2 separate regions of the Homo sapiens genome follow, and region 2 is linked to region 1. The links are contacts of gene promoters, found by promoter capture Hi-C in human tissues and cell types (Jung and others, 2019). All regions are on one chromosome and are shown on one strand. The core of a region is centred on a gene start or on the middle of the fragment in contact, and the rest is flanking DNA. Distances in the headings are between cores, read along the strand shown. Region 1 holds the start of RBPMS2 (RNA binding protein, mRNA processing factor 2). Region 2 overlaps CSNK1G1 (casein kinase 1 gamma 1).

The links. Contacts are between HindIII fragments. The study calls those that stand out against the background at their distance.
Region 2: a contact is called between a fragment that was not itself captured here and the fragment with the promoter of RBPMS2 in region 1, in 2 of the 25 tissues and cell types used here (spleen and thymus).

What each region holds. Positions count from the first base shown.
Region 1 is chr15:64,774,022-64,777,065 of GRCh38, reverse strand. RBPMS2 (RNA binding protein, mRNA processing factor 2) reads left to right here and starts at 1,477. Exons shown (of 8, transcript NM_194272.3): 1 at 1,477-1,833. The coding sequence starts at 1,747. RefSeq lists enhancers at 1-769, 770-1,616 and a silencer at 1,052-1,301. The HindIII fragment of the contact is 13,175 bases long and covers 1-3,044 here.
Region 2 is chr15:64,229,068-64,231,767 of GRCh38, reverse strand. All of the region lies in intron 4 of CSNK1G1 (casein kinase 1 gamma 1), which reads left to right. Among named protein-coding and RNA genes, the nearest start is that of PPIB, 67 kb to the right of the region's middle. The HindIII fragment of the contact is 8,680 bases long and covers 1-2,700 here.

The sequences.
Region 1 (3,044 bases), core at 228-2,727:
CTCAATTTATCTGTGAGATGGCAGGTCAGGATGGAGATTATAATTTACTGGGAAGACTAAGCCACAGCACAGTGATCCTGTGGTGCTAGTCCTACCTAATTCAGGAGGTCGACACACAGAGGTTCTGGGGGCTCAGGCACTTGTCCACGGTCTGGGATCCTAACCAGTCCGTGACTGCAAATCCAGCTTTTCTTTTTTCTTTTCTTTTTTTGAGACGGAGTTTCGCTCTTGTTGCCCTGGCTGGAGTGCAATGGCAAGATCTCGGGTCACCGCAACCTCCGCCCCGTCCAGGAGAAGGGGCACTGAGGAGGGACCCAGTTCTCCCGCGGCTCTGCCGGATTCAGGCTGCAGCGCTTCCAGCGCTCCCCGAGGTGGGTGCGGGTTTCTACTGTGGCAGCAGGGCGGGCCCCCATCGGCTGGGTTTTCAAATAGAAGAGAAAACCGACCCAGAGGCCGCGCCCTACTGACCTGCGCGGGGGTGCGGGGGGAGTCACGACGACCTCCCCCACCTCCCCCAGCCTCTAGGCTATTACATCCGTCCCCAGCCTTCGGGCTCAGAATAGGAGGCAGGGAAAGGTGTGAGGGGCACTGAGGTCGGGGGAGGAGCGAGAAGACCCGAAAGCCAGGCGTGTTGAGGGCAAGGTGGGCAACAGAACCTTCTTGGTCATTCGAGGCAGCCCTCGCTAATGACCATTGGGGTCCCAACACTCGAATCCCCACCTAAGTCCTATTCAGATAGTGACTGGGAGTGGGAAGGGAGTTTGAGATCCTAAGTCCCACCCTCTGGGCTGGGAGCCTGAGGCCAGAGAGGGGAAGTGATTTCCTCAAGGTCACTCAGCAAAACAGCGCCCAGCCCGGGCCAAAGCTCAGGTGTCTCCCAACCCCCTCCCCCCGGCCATCACCCCCAGAACTCGGTCCCCCGGAGCTGAGGTCTGCGCGACTGGATTTAGGGGCAGAATGAGTGCGTCGGGAACCCCAAAACCCTAGATCAAGATACAAGGGGAGTCGACGGCCCGGAAACCTCGCTGCGGGTGCCCTAAGCGCGAGGCCGCCCGGGCAGGGCCGCCCAGGGACCGGGGCGCTGGGTGCGGGGCACGGGGCTCCACCTCCCGCGGGCTGGGGCGCGCAGCGCGCGGCCCCTTTAAGAAAGTTCGCCGGGCGAGTTCATCAAAGTTTAAAAACTCGCCGTGGAGAAGGGCGCGGGGGAAGAGGAGAGAGGGAGAGCGCTGACCCAGGCGAGAGAGAGGGGAAAGGCCCGGCCGGAGGCCGGCGCCCCGCGGCCGGGGCCGGGGCGAGCCCACGGTGGGCGGTGGGGATTGGCTGCGCGTTCCCCCGGAGACCGCGCGGCGGGCGGGGGAGGGGGCTGGCCGGGCCCCAGCTGAGGCCGGTTCCGGCCCCGCCCCCCGCCGCCGGCGCCCGCCCCCTCCCCCGGCGCCCGCCCCCCGCCGCCGCTGCCGCCGCCGCCGCCGCCGCGGCGCACTCGCCGGTCGCAGTGAAAAGGCGGAGGCGGCGGCCCCTCCGGCTCCCACTGCCTCCCCCGCCGCACCCCCTCCCCACCTTCCGCACCCGCCAAACTTGATGTGACCCTGGCCCGACGCGGAGGCTGCCCCTCTCACTGCCCCGTGGGTCCCCCGCCACCCGCTCCGCACCCGCGAGCGCACCGCTCCCCGCGCCCCTTCCCACTTCCCGCGGGGCCGGCGCCGCGCTCGCCCTCGCGTTCCTTCCCGCCGCCCCCTCCCCCGCACCATGAGCAACCTGAAGCCGGACGGCGAGCACGGCGGCAGCACCGGCACCGGCTCCGGCGCGGGCTCCGGCGGCGCCCTGGAGGAGGAGGTGGGTCTGTGGCCCCGGGACTTGCCGGGTGAAGCGCACGCCAGGCGGGCGCGGGAGAGGGCGAGCGGGGCCTGCCGCGCCTCGCGGGGCCGGGGTGGCCATCGCTCCCGGCGCCTTCCCGCCGCTGCCCTCTCGCCCGGGTAGGAGCGGCCCGTGTCCGCGGGCGGGAGCGTGCGGCCTGGACTGCCCCGCCGGACAGGCATTGTCTCCCCGCCCTCTCGGGCTCGAGGCGGGCCGCGCGCGCCGGCCGCCGTCCGGGCGTCCCGCGGTGGGCGAGATGCGCCGCGTCCGTTCCATGCCTGCCGCCCGCGCGCCCCTTGCTCCCCACCCCGTAGCCGCTCGCCGCCCTCCTCCGAGGCGCACCTCCTGCGTGGCCAGGACCCCGCCTCGGCGGCACGGAGCGGAGCGGGATTAGCACGGCCCGAGGGCGGCACCCTCACTCCACTGCCTTTTCCGCCCTGACCCCCTCCCCGTGACCTTGGAGGCCTGGGCCGGCCGGCTCCTCGGTTCCTGCGAGCTGTTGTCATGGGGGTGGGCGGGCTTTCTTCACAGCCCCAGAACCTGGGCTTTGGCAGAGGTGAGCCCACAATTTAATTAGTTTGGAAGATGACTAAAGACACTCAGTTCGTCCTTCTCCTCTCTCTGGGTTTGTCCTGGCAACCAAGCCAGGACCCCAAAGCTGGCCTGGGTGGGATCCTGCCAGGAGGGGCGAAATCATCTCGTCCACCGGCCATGTGCGAAAGGGAGGGAGTGTAAGGCGGCTCCGTGGAACCACCAGCAGCTGGGTGGTTAATGGATGGTAGGGAGGATGTGTGTGCGGGGTGGGGTGCTGGATAAAAGCCTCAAAGATATCAGTGAATAGGGACGAGGAGCTAGGCTGGCGGAGACAAGAACTGGAGTAGAAGGGGACAGGCTTCGCAGGGCCTCTGGCCTCTGCTGCGTCATTCTAGGGGTGAGAGAGCCTTCCTGCCCCTGCCCTGGCATGTTCTCGCCCAGGAAACCAAGGGCTGGTTATCCACCTTGGGCGCCCTTCCCCTTGGCCTGGGGGAGAAACCGCAGAGCCCCTGGTGTGGACTGGTGTTGCCTCCTCCCCTTGTGCTGGGGGTTGGTGCAGAATGGCGCCGGTGGCCCTCGGCTGGGCTGGGCTCAGCGCCGCCAGCTCCCACTCGGCTATTCAGAGACCTTCAGCCAGCCCCAGTCGATGACAATCT
Region 2 (2,700 bases), core at 65-2,564, 550 kb after region 1:
GGAAGTTCTGAAAGAAAAAATGGTTTCTAATTTTGAGAAAGAGAAAAGGTTTTATAGAGAGAGTGGCATGTATGGGGCTGAGCTTTAAAAAACGACTATGATTTATTTGAACATATAAAAATGGAAGAGTAAGGAAAGCTTTCCAAGTACAAAAAATAAACCAAGTCCCAGAGGCTGCTATGTCTCTGTTCATGCATTTATTAAAGAGATATTCTTGAGCATCCCACTTGGGTTAAGTACTATTCTAAGCTAAGTCTTAGGGATACAGTAGTGAACAAGATAGGCACAGCACCTAATATATATATGTATATGTGTGTGTGTATATATATATATATCCTAATATATATATACATATACATATATGAGCAAGACCTCATCTCCAAATATATATATGTTTATATAAATATAAAATATAAATATATATATAATATATATATATTTGGAGATGAGGTTTTGCTCTGTCACCTAGGCTGAAGTGCAGTGGTGTCATCACAGCTCACTGCAGCCTCAACCTCCTGGGCTCAAGAGATTCTCCTACCCCAGCTTCCTGAGTAGCTGGGACCACAGGCATACATCACACGCTCAACTAATTTTTTTATTTTTTGTAAACATGGGGTCTCCCTATGTTGCCCAGGCTAGTCTCGAACTTTTGGCCTCAAGCAATCCTCCTGCCTCAGCCTCCCAAAGTGCTGAGATTACAGGTGTGAGCCACCATGCCCAGGCTTAATTAATGTTCTAAAAGGAATATAACCTGCAATTTTATTTTATTTTATTATTTATTTATTTATTTTTTTGAGACGGATTCTCGCTCTGTCACCCAGGCTGGAGTGCAGTGGCACAATCTCGGCTCACTGCAACCTCTGCCTCCTGGGTTCATGCCATTCTCCTGCCTCAGCCTCCTGAGTAGTTGGGACTACAGTCACCCACCACCACGCCTGGCTAATTTTTTTGTATTTTTTAGTAGAGACGGGGTTTCACCGTGTTAGCCAGGATGGTCTCAATCTTCTGACCTAGTGATCCACCCACCTTGGCCTCCCAAAGTGGTGGGATTACAGGCGTGAGCCACTGCACCCGGCTGCCATTTTATTTTTAAATACCCTCACAGACCTGAGTACTCAAGTAATGGGGACTGTCGTGCTAAATGTTGAAAATAGGCCCAAGCCTAGAGTCAGAATAGGGACCAAAGAAGATTTAGAACTCTGGCAGTTTGGGAAGGATGAGGTGGGAGAACTGCTCGAGCCCAGGACTTCAGGACCAACCTGGGCAACCTAGTGGGACCCTGTCTCAACAAAAAATTAAAAATTAGCCAGGCGTGGTGTCACACGTCTGTAAGTCCCAGCCACTCGGGAGGCTGAGGTGGGAATATTGCTTGAGCCTGGGAAGTCAAGGCTGCAGTGAGCCATGGTTTGTGCCACTGCACTATAGCCTGGGTGATAGAGTGAGACCCTGACTTAAAAAAAAAAAACCAAAACTGGCAATTTGGCACTATATACTAAAATATTAACTATGCAAGCATTTGACTCAGCATTTCCTGTTTAAGGAATTAACATTCAAGATATGTTTACCGGGCAGGGCATGGTGGCTCACGCCTATAATCCAAGCACTTTGGGAGGCCCAGCGCGTCAGGTGATCTGCCTGGCCAACATGGTAAAACCCTGTCTCTACTAAAAATATAAAAATTAGCCGGGCACGGTGGCGCATGCTTGTAATCCCAGCTACTCCAGAGGCTGAGACAGGAGAATCCCTTGAACCCGGGAGGTGGAAGTTACAGTGAGCCGAGGTCGCGCCACTGCCCTCCAGCCTGGGCGACAGAGTGAGATTCTGTCTTAAAAAAAAAAAAAAAAAAAAAAAAAAAAAAAAAAAAATTTACAAACATGCCCAAAAATATAGGCTTAAGGATTTTTTTTTGTAGTATTGCATGCCTATTTGTCTAGATGCTTTTATTTGCCAAGAGTAGAATCCCAGTTCAAGCTCACTTGAGAGAGGGAGAGGAGAATTTCTTGGCTCACAGAACTGAGAAGTCAAAAGCATTCTCACTTCAAGCCATCCAGATACAGGACTAATAATGTCCTTGGTCCATAGGTATGTGATACATTTGCCTCTCTTTTTTTCTCACCTCTTCTTTCTCTGCATTAGCTTCATTCTCAAATAGGCTTTCTCCATGTGGTGGTCCCTGGCAACTCCAGGCTGAGCTGCTTTCAGTTTAGCGATCAGGGAGAGAGAGAGAGAGAGAGAGAGAAAGAGAGAGAGAAAGAGAGAGAATACTCCTCCTTCTCTATAGTTCCACAAAAGTCCTAGAGTTGACTCTTGTTACATGAGAGACATGGCACCCATTCCTGAGCCAGTTTTCCCAGGCAGGCAGATAGAGTATTCTGAGTAATTGGGCTTGTGGCATCCTCGGGATGTCAGTGGGAGATGGGTTGCCCCCACTTTAACCACATGAAGTAACACTGGGGAAATGGTACTTTCCACTGTAAGAATAAGGTGGTGTTATCAGAAGGAACAAAAGGATGCAGACCAGGCAAAAGCAATAGGTGTTCACTATAATATATATTTCTAATTAACACATGGAAACAGCATGAATGCCCATCAGTAGGGGGAAAGTTAAACAGATATGTTACATGGTGGAATACTATTATACTACTATTAATATGTAGCTATTAAAATGAATAAGGTAGGTCTATATGTTGATAAGAAAAA